Linked DNA regions of Homo sapiens: region 2 is linked to region 1. The links are contacts of gene promoters, found by promoter capture Hi-C in human tissues and cell types (Jung and others, 2019). All regions are on one chromosome and are shown on one strand. The core of a region is centred on a gene start or on the middle of the fragment in contact, and the rest is flanking DNA. Distances in the headings are between cores, read along the strand shown.

The links. The method cuts DNA at HindIII sites, captures the fragments that hold promoters and counts their contacts. A contact is called where the count stands out against the background at its distance.
Region 2: the fragment with the promoter of MIER2 here is called in contact with a fragment that was not itself captured in region 1 in 3 of the 25 tissues and cell types used here (IMR-90 fibroblasts, dorsolateral prefrontal cortex and lymphoblastoid cells).

The regions. Positions count from the first base shown.
Region 1 is chr19:513,333-519,691 of GRCh38, reverse strand. TPGS1 (tubulin polyglutamylase complex subunit 1) reads right to left here. Exons shown (of 2, transcript NM_033513.3): 2 at 38-803. The coding sequence ends at 269. Among named protein-coding and RNA genes, the nearest start is that of MADCAM1-AS1, 8.6 kb to the right of the region's middle. RefSeq lists an enhancer at 328-1,234. The HindIII fragment of the contact is 7,591 bases long and covers 1,213-6,359 here.
Region 2 is chr19:340,507-346,912 of GRCh38, reverse strand. It overlaps MIER2 (MIER family member 2), which reads left to right and starts at 2,117. Exons shown (of 14, transcript NM_017550.3): 1 at 2,117-2,139. The coding sequence starts at 2,131. RefSeq lists silencers at 1,773-2,222, 2,293-2,342, 2,643-2,752 and enhancers at 3,061-4,012, 5,199-5,786. The HindIII fragment of the contact is 27,379 bases long and covers 1-3,971 here.

The sequences.
Region 1 (6,359 bases), core at 3,759-6,258:
CGGGGCTGGGAGGCGGGCGCTCGCATACACACCAGCGTCAGCCTCGCAACACATTTTATTAGCGTGGGGCAGGGGCTCCCGCGGGGGTGGAGGGGCGGCCGCGGCGCTGTGTGGGGACCGGGCGTCCGCTTCCTGGGAGCCCCGGCCTCCTCCGCAGGGCTGGGCGCCTGGTTATGGCAGGGCCTCACCAGGGCGAAGGGAAGGCTCCGCGCGCCCCGCACGCGGGGACCCCCCAGCGCAGATCCCGGATCCGCGCGGCCCACGGGCCTCAGCCCACCGGCTTGACCTTCGCGATGAAGAGCGCGGCGGCCCTCTCCAGAAACTCCTCGCGGGTCATGGGCGCGCTGGGCCGCCGCCCCCCGACGGCGCGGTCCAGCGCCAGCGCCAGGCTGTCGGGCCCCAAGCGCGAGCCGGCCTCCAGGAAGCGCGCGGGCGCGGCGGCGTCGCTGGCCTGCAGCGCGCCCTCCAGGGTGTCCAGCACGGCCTGGCCCACGCGGCGGTCGGCCACGGCGGCGGCCGAGTCCTCCAGCAGCTGGAAGAGCGCGCCGGCGCGCGCCACGAACTCCAGCAGCACGAAGCAGGTGAGTGTGCCCGCGCGGAAGACGCTCAGCGGCACCGCCTCGTGGTCACGGCACTGCACCTTGCGCAGCAGCGGCGCCACCACCTCCTCGGGGGCTTGGCCGTCCCGGCAGATGCGCCTGAGCAGCTCGCTGTAGGTGCGCCCGTCCAGCCCCGGCCTCTTCCTGCGCCCGCCGGCGCTCAGGCACTCGTAGGCCACGCTCACGTTGTTGTTGAAGGCGGCCCTGCGGAGACGGGGACGTTGGGGGCCGGCAGAGACCGCGCGCCCACCCAGCCCCAGCCTCCCCTCCTCGCCAGGCCTATGCCCTAGCCTCCCCGACCCCCCAGCCAGCCCTGGCCTCCCCTCTCCTCCTACCCCCCATCCCCGGCCTCCCCTCCTCCTCACCCTCTATCCCTGAAGCTCCTCTCTTGAGCCCCCGCCTCCCTTCTCCCAGCTAGGGCCTCTCCTCCCCGCAGCATCCCCAGCCCGGGCCTCTCCTCCCCCAAGCATCCCCAGCCCGGGCCTCTCCTCCCCCCAGCATCCCCAGCCCAGGCCTCCCTCCTCCCAGTCCCCTCCCAGCCCAGGCCTCCCTCCCCCAAGCATCCCCAGCCTGGGCCTCTCCTCCCCCAGCATCTCCAGCCCAGGCCTCCTCCTCTCAGCCCCCTCCCAGCCCTGGCCTCTCCTCCCCCCAGTATCCCAAGCCCAGGCCTCCCTCCTCCCAGCCCCTACCCAGCCCGGGCCTCCCTCTTCCCAGCCCCTACTCAACCTGGGCCTCCCCTCCCCACCCCACCAGCACTCCCAGCCTGGGCCTCCCTCCTCCCAGCCCCTACCCAGCCTGGACCTCCCCTCCTCCCAGCTCCCACCCAGCCTGGCCTCCCTCCTCCCAGCCCCTACCCAGCCGGGGCCTCCCTCTTCCCAGCCCCTACTCAACCTGGGCCTCCCCTCCCCACCCCACCAGCACTCCCAGCCTGGGCCTCCCTCCTCCCAGCTCCCACCCAGCCTGGCCTCCTTCCTCCCAGCACCCCCCAGCCCGGGGCTCCCTCCTCCCAGCACCCACCCAGCCAGGCCTTCCTCCTCCCAGCACCCCCTCAGCCTGGGCCTCCCCTCCCCACCAGCACCCCCAGCCTCGGCCTCCTCCCAACCTGGATCTCCCTCCTCCCAGCCTCTACCCAGCCTGGGCCTCCTCCCAACCTGGATCTCCCTCCTCCCAGCCTCTACCCAGCCTGGGCCTCCTCCTCCCAGCCCCCACCCAGCCTGGCCTCCCTCCTCCCAGCACCGCCCAGCCCGGGCCTCCCCTCCCCACCAGCACCCCCAGCCTCGGCCTCCTCCTCCCAACCTGGGTCTCCCTCATCCCCGCCTCCACCCAGCCTGGCCTCCCCCGTCCCAGCCCCTACCCAGCCTCGGCCTCCTCCTCCCAGCACCCCCCAGCCTGGCCTCCCCCCTCCCAGCCCCCACCCAGCCTGGCCTCCGTCCTCCCAGCACCCCCCAGCCTGGGTCTCCCCCCTTCTAGCCCCCACCCAGCCTGGCCTCCCTCCTCCCAGCCCCCACCCATCCTGGCCTCCCCCCTCCCAGCCCCCACCCAGCCTGGCCTCCGTCCTCCCAGCACCCCCCAGCCTGGGCCTCCCCCCTTCCAGCCCCCACCCATCCTGGCCTCCATCCTCCCAGCCCCCACCCAGCCTGGCCAGCCCCCACCCAGCCTGGCCTCCCCCCTCCCAGCCCCCACCCAGCCTGGCCTCCCCCCTCCCAGCCTCCACCCAGCTCAGGCCTCTCCTCCCCGCAGCTCCCATCCAGCCCTGGCTTCCCAGCTCCAACTGGACCGGCCTCAGGGCCTCTGCAAGGGCCGTGACACTGCCTTCCCCCAGATCTCCCTCACCTCCTCCCTGGTCTCCTCCAGGTCTCTCCTCAAATGTCGCCTCCCCTGACCCCTAACTCCTTTCCTCCTGTTTTCTTCCTAGTGGTCATCCTGTCTCACTCGCTGTCCCACATCCCTGTGAGCTTCATGTCTCCCACCAGTGTGAGCACCTGCCCTCCAGGGCCGGAAGTTCGTCTTGGTTATAGCCCTGGTGCCCAGAACACTGCCCTGCCCACAGTAGGTGCTCAGTAAATGTCTTGAATCAACGGCAGGCATCTGTCTGGGGCATCTGGCCCCAGTGAAGAAGGAATTAGTGAAATCAGCTCTAACCTAATAGTAGTAGTCATAGAAATTTTAAAATCCTCTTAAAGTTGCTGCAAAGTGTGACCCCCACCCTTACACTCAAGTTAAAAGAGAATGTTAACAGCCTGTCTTCTCTCTGTAGTCAGTGGACCTTATCTATACTCTCCAACTCCACATTCCTCAGTTTATTACAGGCCCAGCGAGTTCCTGCTTACCTCCCTAGCACGGCTGCAGGGTCACAAAACCGATAAGTTTAGGTTGTAAGACATGTTTTTCTCAAGATGTGAGAAATGTTGGCCAGGCACGGTGGCTCACGCCTGTAATCCCAGCACTTTGGGAGGCCGAGGTGGGAGGATCACAAGGTCAAGAGATTGAGGCCATCCTGGCCAACATGGTGAAACCCCATCTCTACTAAAAATACAAAAATTAGCGGGACGTGGTGGTACACGTCTGTAGTCCCAGCTACTCGGGAGTCTGAGGCAGGAGAATCGCTTGAACCTGGGAGGTGGAGGTTGCGGTGAGCCAAGATGGCGCCACTGCACTCCAGCCTGGGCGACAGAGCGAGACTCCGTCTCAAAAAAAAAAAAAAGAAAAAGAAAAAAGAAATGCTGTAATGCTTAACTGCCTTTGTTTCTCGCCTCTGTAACTTGCTTCCCGCCTCACGTAGTTCCCGCCTTACGATGTTTAAAAATAGGAAAAGCCCTTTGTTCGAGGCTCAGACTTTCTGGATGTATGTCCAGCTGAGCCGGTGATCACCTTGATAAACTCTCCTGAACCTTTTTCGGTCTCTCCACTCTTTGTCCCACAACACCAGGACCCTCTGGTCTCCCTCCCTGCAGCAGCAGCGCCTGTTTACATGTGGCCAAATACTGTGCCCAACATTTAACACAACTGACATTTGTTTTTTTCTTTTCTTTCTTTCTTTCTTCCTTTTTTTTTTTTTTTTGAGACGGAGTCTCGCTCTGTCGCCCGGGCTGGAGTGCAGTGGCGGGATCTCGGCTCACTGCAAGCTCCGCCTCCCGGGTTCACGCCATTCTCCTGCCTCAGCCTCCCAAGTAGCTGGGACTACAGGCGTCCGCCACTATGCCCGGCTAATTTTTTGTATTTTTAGTAGAGACGGGGTTTCACCGTTTTAGCCGGGATGGTCTCGATCTCCTGACCTCGTGATCCACCCGCCTCGGCCTCCCAAAGTGCTGGGATTACAGGCGTGAGCCACCGCGCCCGGCCCTCTTTCTTTTTTTGAGACAGTGTCTCACTCTGTTGTCAGGCTGGAGTGCAGTGGCACAATCTCAGCTCACAGCAACCTCCACCTCCCGGGTTCAAGCGATTCTCCTGCCTCAGCCTCCTGAGCTGCTGGGATTACAGGCGTGTGTTACCACACCCAGCTAATTTTTGTATTTTTAGTAGAGACGGGGTTTCACCATGTCGGCCAGGATGGTCTGGATCTCGAGTGACCTCGTGGTCCGCCCACCTCGGCCTCCCAAAGTGCTGGGATTACAGGTGTGAGCCACTGCGCCCAGTCTGTGCTGAACATTTAACACAGCTGACATTGCATTTTTTCTTTTTTTTTTTTTTTTGAGACAGGGTCTCACTGTGTTGTGCAGGCTGGAGAGCAGTGGTACAATCAGGGCTCACAGCAGCCTCCACCTCCTGGGCTCAAGCGATCCTCCTGCCTCAGCCTCCCAAACTGCTGGGATTACAGGTGACAGTTGCTGCTCGGGGCCAGTGGTGGTATTTCTCTCCCCACAATCCCACAGGCAAGGCCCCACAGTCAGCCTGAGGGTCAAATACGACCTGCTGCCTGCTTTTGTAAATAAAGCTTTATCGGAACATAACCACATCAGTCCGCTGACATGTGGCCTGTGGCAGCTTCCGACCAGAACCGTAGAGCTGAATGTCAGGATGGAGGCTGCCACGCAAAGCTGAAATGTTCACTATCTGGCCCCTTACAGAAGAAGGCTGTCAGCCCTGCTGCCGGCTCTGGGGTGGGTTCGATTCCCTGCCCCAGTGAGGAGCCTGAGGCCTTACTACGTGCCACTCGTGTGCTGGTAGTGTGACACACACTCCCGTGGAGGGCACCAGGGAGTGGCCAGGGAGCACCGTGGCCAGCGTGGGGGCCGCTGCAGGACCCTGGGTGGGCTGCTTAACCCCCTGGCCTCACTCCCCCCATCAGTTCCCGGCCAGGCCTCATGCTAGTGGCCTGTTACTTCCTCTGGGACATATAGGGAAACTGAGGCTCAGGGCAGCCCCATGGTCTGGCCAAGGGTCCCAGAGAGGAAGTGGCCAACCTCAGGGCTTACGCTTTTCCCTTCTGGGAGCTCAGCTTCATGGTGAGGAGGGCAGCCTTCCCTCCGGCATGACCTGGGCACACGACTTCACCTTTCTGTGGGCCACCTGTGGTAGGTGCCGGGGAAGTGCTAAGCCAGCATGCAGTAGGTGCTCAGTAAATGCAGGGTTGGTGTGCAGCAGGTGCTCAGTAATGCAGGGCTGGTACACAGTAGGTGCTCAGTGATGCTGGGCCAGAATGCAATAGGTGCTCAGTAAATGTGGGGCTGGTGTGCAATAGGTACTCAGTAATGCTGGGGCGGTGTGCAGTGGGTGCTCAGTAAATGCTGGGCCAGTAAGCAATAGGTGCTTAGTAAACGTGGGGTCGGTGTGCAGTGGGTGCTCAGTAATACAGGGCCGGTGTAGAGTAGGTGCTCAGTGAATGCAGGGCCAGTACACGGTAGGTACTCAGTAATGCTGGGGCGGTGTGCAGTGGGAGTGAAGTAAATGCTGGGCCAGCATGCAATAGGTGCTCAGTAAATGTAGGGTCAGTGTGCAGTGGGTGCTCAGTAATACAGGGCTGGTGTACAGTAGGTGCTTAGTGAATGCAGGGCTGGTACATAGTAGGTGCTCAGCAAATGTGGGGCCAGTGTGCAGTGGGTGCTCAGTAATGCTGGGTCTGTGTACAGTGGGTGCTCAGTAAATGCTGGGCCAGCATGCAATAGGTGCTCAGTAAATGTGGGGCCGGGGCAGGTTGGTGTGCAGCAGGTGCTCAGTAATGCAGGACTAGTGCACAGTAGGTGCTCAGTAATGCTGGGGTTGTGTGCAGTGGGTGCTCACTAAATGCTGGGCCAGGATGCAATAGGTGCTCAGTAAATGTGGGGCCAGTGTGCAGTAGGTGCTCAGTAAATGTGGGGCTGGTGTGCAGTAGGTACTCAGTAATGCTGGGCTGGTGTGCAGTAGGTACTCAGTAATGCTGGGCTGGTGTGCAGTAGGTACTCAGTAATGCTGGGCTGGTGTGCAGTAGGTACTCAGTAATGCAGGGCCAGTATGCAGTAGGTGCTCAGTAATGCTGGGCTGGTGTGCAGTAGGTGTTCAGTAATGCAGGGCCGGCATGCAGTAGGTGCTCAGTAAATGCTGGGCGGGTGCACAGTAGGTGCTCAGTAATGCTGGGCCGGTGCACGGTGGGTGCCTGGTGAACACGTGCCTCCCTGGTCATCACTGCTGCTCAGTTCAGGGCTTAGGGATGGACGTGCCATCTCAGCGAGCTCGAGGGTCAAAGCTCTGCTATGGAGGAGGAAACTGAGGCCCAGAGGCAGGAGGGCAGCGACCTGCAATTCAACTCTAGGCCCATCTGGCTGTACGCTCCTTTTCCCTCCC
Region 2 (6,406 bases), core at 868-3,367, 170 kb after region 1:
ACAGTCTACGGAGACAGACTTTCAGACCTTAAAATATCCTTCACTCTTTTTTTTTTTTTTTTTTGAGACAGGTCTCACTCTGTTGCCCAGGCTGGGGTGCAGTGGCACAATCACTGCTTACCGCAGCCTCGACCTCCTGGGCTCAAGAGATCCTCCCACTTCGGCCTCCAGAGTAGCTGGGACTACAGGCACATTATCGTCATGCCCTCTAATGTTTAAAGTTTTTTTTTTTTTTTTTTGAAACAGTGTCTCACTCTGTTTCCCAGGCTGGAGTGCAGTGATCTTAGCTCACTGCAACCTCTGCCTTCCCAGGTTCAAGTGATTCTCTTGCCTTAGCCTCCACAGAATAGCTGGGATTATGGGCACTCGCCACCACGCCCGGATAATTTTTGTATTTTTAGTAGAGACAGGGTTTCACCCTGTTGCCCAGGCTGGTCTCAAACTCCTGACCTCAAGTGATCCTCCTGCCTCTGCCTCCCCAAGTGTTAGGATTAGAGGTGTGAGTCACCGTTCCAAGCCACAATACCCTTCTCTTCACCCAAGTCCTCATTTGACATCTATGTGATGATTCTTGCCAAGCCCTCTCCTAAGAGTCTTCCCTCGTTTTGCCAGGTGGACTCAAGCCCTTGTCTTCGGGCCCCTCCACCTGTTACAGCACAGCACCTCACTCTCTTATCTGTTCATGCTTCTCCCTGCTTCACAGGACCTCTGGCTACCCAGCACCCAGTTGAGGACTGCATAAGATATGTGTTTAGTTCACTGAATGACTGAATGAATAATAACAAATGAATAATAAAGGAAGGAACCAACTCTTGCACAAATCAGTGAGGACTCTTCAACACGAGGGCCAGAACCCTCAATCTCAATGATGTAAACCAAAAAAGGAGTGAGGGTAGACCCCTCCAGAGTGGTTCTTCTATCTCTTGGTTGGTGAATTCTCAGAGGACTGAGTAATGATTTTGCATCAGGAATCAAGGCTGATGCATGTCAAGTTCTCACTATTCATTGGCTGATCACTGGGAAACAGGAATGAGACTCATTCTCTTCTTCCTGGTCCCCAATTCCCTTCCTCCTGGTCCCCAATTCCCTTCTTCCTGGTCTCCAGTTCTCTTCTTCCTGGTCTCAGTAGGAACCGCCCTCCACTCATTTGCGCAAGCCAGACATCTGGAGGCCATCCTTCACTCTCTCCAGCTTCCCTCCATCAGCGAGTCTTGTGGTGTCCACCTTCTCAAGTCTCTCTGCACTCTGGTCCAGGCCCCACAGCTCCCACCTGGCCCCTGCCTCTTCACGCCCCACCCCTGCTTCCTATCCTCTCTCTGCATCGTGCGCCCCGAAGATTCACGGCACTTATCCGTCTCAAATTTAAGGTGTGGCGAGTCCTTGCCTTCCCATCCTCCACTCTAAACGCCCTGAAGACAGGCGTTAGGGCTGTCTCCTTCAAACCCTCAGGATCAGAACGTGCACGTGTTCCAGAAATGTTCAATCTGCGAAACGACGGACTGCAGAACCAAATGGCCCTGGGGTCAAGCCCACCTCCCTGCCTCCCGCCTTGGGCTCTCCGGCGCGGGGCCACCGTTTCTAAAACCTCTCCGACTGGTGCGCGTTCGCAAGCTCCCCGATTGGTTCCTCCGCGCGCTAGTTTGCTCATCACGGGTGCGAAAGTGCAGAAAATTCCAGAACCACGCAGCCCGGACACCAATTCTGGCTCTATCACTGACACTCTGGGTGGCCCGTCGCCCTGGGCCTCAGTTTCCTAGTCTGCCACGCGGGGTATTAACAGCGAGCAGCCGAGGGAATGAAGAGGTCACACAGGACCACGTGGTCCCCACGCAGGTGTGATTATCAGGAATTCGTATTTTTATGGAATGCAGTCTCCTCCGCCAAGGCCAAGGCCAAGATCAGGGTCCAGCAGAGACGGCCGGAAAGACACCGCAAGCTCGCCAGAAGCCGCCGGCCACGCTCGGCTGCGCGCCCGCGCCCGCGCCCGCGCACCTACTACGCGCCCGGCCCGCTCTCCGCCCCCTCCAGGCTCCGCCCCCTGCCCCGCCCTCCAGGCTCCACAGCCAATGAGTGCGCGGCCCCTCATCCGGGGATCCCGGCGCGGCCACCGCCTCCCGCGCACACACGGCCATGGCGGAGGTGAGTGAGCGGGCCGGGGGAGCCGGCCCCCCGCCCCCGCGCGTCCGCGCCCCCCGCCGCCGTGGCTCGGCCTCGTCGTGGGCCCCAGGGACGGAGAGCCCCGCTCTGGAGCTCTGAGGCCGGCCGGGGCGCCTGGCCCGTCCGGGGCCGGAGGGGCGCGGGGCTCCATCGGCGGCCGCCCCCGGCCGGCCCCCACCCCCCAACTCCCCCGGCTGCCACATCGCGGGCTGCAGTGCGCATGCGCGGCGGCGCGGGGCGGGCGGGGGCCGGGGTGGGGGAGGGGAGGGACGCGGGGCGGGGCTGGTGTCGGGGGTCCGGTGGGCGCGCGGCTCCGTTCCAGGGTCCGGCTCCGGTTCCCGGCCCCGGCCCGGGCCCCGCGGCGCGCAGGCCTCCCCTCCCGCGCCTTTGCCAACTTTGCCGAGTGCTGGGGCCGCCAGGCGCCCCGCGCTCCCCATCGGGATCCCGGTGGACCCACCGCGCCTCCGCCGCCCGCGAGCCCCCCGGCGGGGCTGGGTCAGACCCCGGGCGGGATTTGAACTCCCGACGCGGACCCGCCTGGCGCGAACTGGGCGCAGGGTGGGTGGGTCTGCCGGGGCCTAGAGAGCGTCGGGGCTGATCTCAGAAGAGTTGGACCAGCCTCTCCCGGGCACGAAGTTACTTCTGGAGCCTCCTCCCTCGTCCAGGAAACAAGCCCGGGACCCTTTATCTGAAATGTTTGGGACCAGCTATATTTTGGAATCCAGAATTTTTCCAATTTGAGGATCTGTGGGATTTTGGACTGTGATGTTTGATCAAACCCACCTAGGACTGTCTAGGATAAGACAACAGATAGCTTCGTGTCAGGTCAAACCAGGAAGGAAGAAACTTTCGCTTTTGAAGCTTTTTTTGATTTTGGAGTGGTGGATGAGCCTGTGTGGACTTGCTTTCACCTTGGAGGGCCCTGGTGAAGATGGAAAGAGATAATGTAGGTGAAGGTGCGGCGGCTGCGAGGTGCTCAGTCAGTGGGACTCAGTGCATGACTTCTGTGCGCAGAAGTTACGACAGGCGGGCAGACTCAAGAGCTGATCCTATCTCTGGGATAGAGCCCAAAGGAAAAGGTGCCCACCCAGCCAGGCACAGCCGCCTCGTGGGAAGCCGGGATTGGAACTGCGGCCTGGCCGTGGTGCCACGTTGCGTGTTTATGTCTTGGGCGTTGTGGGAGGCAGGACTGGCCATTCTCTCCCCCTGGTGACGACCTCAGGGGCAGTAACAGGCCCTGTGTTTATGCCAAAGACGGTGTAGGTGTCTCGATACTAGGCCAGACCACCGGCCAGTTCCTTCATCGAGAATTAGTTCTTCTTGAGACGCTTAGGGAGACTGAGTCCCCATGCAGATGGTGGCTGTCCTCCAGGGTCGGAGGCAGAAGCCGCGTCTCCCAGTGGCCCTGCAGCGACGTGGTGGTCGAATGAGTTGTGCTCCTGGAATCTGGGCAACACACGTGGCCTGACAGGTAGCTCTGTGTCTGGGATGGCACAAGTCAGACTCCCAAGCCAGCCTCCCCCAGAGCTGCCATGTGGCTGTTCTGCCCTGCTCTAGGCTGAGCTCCGTAAATGTGCACAGCAGCTTGTGGTCCGGCTGCTCCTGTTAACCCTGTTTTACACTTTGGGGTGGTGCCCTGTTGAGTGAATTTGATTTGATTTTCTAAGGAGGTCCCGCTCTGTCCTCGGCCTGAGGATCTGGGAGTGAATGGAGCAGACAGGGCCTCTCCTACAGGGATGCAGAGTCTGGTCAGAGAGAGACGTGGGTGGGTTAGGACCAACAAGTATGAGGTGCTGAGCGTGAGGAGCCATGGCAAGCTGTCTGACCACCGGACTTGTTCTGTGTGGTCTTGGGCAGGTTGCCCAGTGACTCAGAACTTCCTTTTCCTCATCTCTGAAATGGGAAGTTTAATGGTCACCCTTCAGAGCTAGGAGGTCTGATGAGGTCCTGCCACAACGGCTTGTACATGGAAGTTGAATCTTGTGAAGTTGACGATATTCCACTGTTTTTAACCCGTAAAAGTGGCAATTTGTAACTTTATAGCACGTGATCAGTACTAGCTACTTTATTCTGTATCAGTATCCCAGAATAATCATAAGCACCACAGTGGCAGACGGGAATGCTTCATACTTTTCTCAGGCATACTAGATTGATCTTTTAAAAACCTAAGAGCACCATCTTTTGCTCCTACCTAAAACCCTCCATGGCTTTTCATGGTCCCTGGGATAAAATGCTCCTCCTTGCTGAGTCCCACAGCCCTGTGAGGTGGTCCCCACGGATCTGCCCCCTACTCTAGGGCCCTGGGCTCCTGTTTGCTGGTGCACTCTACCCATTTGGGGGCTGCCAACGATGGTTCCACCTCGACTGAGGCCCCCCAGGCCTTCCCTGACCCGCAGTTGCAGAGCCCGTGCGCCCTGTTTTCTCTTCTCGGTACCATACATGTCCACTTGTTTGTTGTCTGTGTCCAAAACTAGCAACTCCATGTGGGTGGAGGCAGGTGGAACTTGTTTCTCAGGTTAACCACCACGCCACTGCCTTGCTGAGCCCAGAGTGGGCGCCCAGGGAACATTGGTCAGACGGAGGAGTGGGGTGCTGGGTAGTCCAACAAGCGCCTGGCACTTGAGTTGGTGTGGGTGGGAGGAGGGTCAAGCATGGCTCTTAGGAGGAGGTTGTTTCAGTCACACTGGGGAGAGGGCTTGGGGCATGGGAGAGGTAGGTGCAGCCATCTTGGCGAATGGAACCTGCCACCCTGTCATTTTGGGTTAAGCTTTGCAGGGTGGCCTCTTGTGTTTTTGGTGCACTCTATACCTGTGGGGGCTGCCCTGGGGGAAGGGCTGGTCTGTGCTCTGCACCCAGTCCTCTGGTGCAGTCTTTATGTTGAGTAGCTGGCTGCCGCTTCTACTGCCTGAAGACCCTGGTGGACGCCTGGGTCTGTGGCCTGTTGTCCTCTGGACCTTGTTTCTAGAATGCTGTTTACGCTTCCTTTGCTTTTTTTGTTGCCTGGAATACCGTTGGCCTGCTCCCCCTCTTTTTCCTGCTTCCACTTTGACAAAACAGAGGACTTTGTCTTTCCTGGGAGTGAACTCAGAGGGAAACATGCAGAGTGTTCTGAGTGAGTGAAGTAGAGTCCCTGGGAACCTGCTTTGAGAGTAGACTTGCACCTGGACACCAGGCAGGGGCAGCGGGAGGAAGAAGATCCATGAAGTCTGTATTCCGTGGTAAGTTCCAGGAACTCAGAGTCGCCTGGAAATGAACTTGGGGATCCCAGGCTGCTCAGGGCCTCCCTGTTAGCGGCCCTTTCTGCCGTTCCCAGCCGCTTCCCTCTTTGCCCCCCTCTGCCTTAGCTCTCCTGTTAAATGGCACGTCATATAAGGGCCAGATCCTCCTCAGACCCTGCAGACCACCTCTCCTGGGGCCATATGTTAACTCCCTGTTACTCGGTGTGGATCTCAAGCCTGCGGGACTGTTGTCAACTTGCCGTCCAGACTGGGGCCTCATTTGATGTGGTCGCCTGCCATCCCCTTGTTAGTCAGGCTCCTGGTTGCGGGAGTAGAAAGCCAGCCCCTGACTGAGGCAGGAACCGTTGCCCAGAGAACCTGTCCTCGACCCCTACCCAGAGGGTCCTAGAGGGGGCTGAGGGTGATTTCAGAGGTCACTTAGGATGCTTTCCCTGTGGCTTCACACCGCGTGTGGCTGTGTAGAGTGGTTGTGGGCTGGTGGCCACCTGCTGTGTCCTGGAAAGAGGTGAGGCCATCTCTGCCAGACCCAGGCCAACCCCAGGGCAGGAGGCGTGAGATGCCCCTGCAGCTGCCATGCACTCTGTGCTGCTTGCTTCCAGTCCCGTGGCCCCTTCCCCCTGGGGGCCCTGCTGGCTCTTCCTTCCCTCTGTCTTCTGTTTGCCCTCTGCCACCACGGAGCTAAACTTTCTAAAGCTGGATGGGTCCTGTCAGTCTCCACTTAGAGCTTGAGGTGCTCCTTGGTCCTTGGCAGCCTTGTTGCCAGAGTCACTCCAGGGCCAGTGGCTGCCCCAGCTCCCTTCCGTGGCTTTGCTGTACGTTGCTGTACAGTTGGCCCTTGAACCTCACGGGTTTGAACTGCATGGGTCACTTATACATGGATTTCCTTCCATCTCTGCCACCCCGAGACAGGAAGACCAACCCCTCCTCTTCCTCCTCAGCCTACTCAACGTGAAGATGATGAGGACGAAGACCTTTAGGATGATCCACTTCCACTTAATGAATAGTAAATA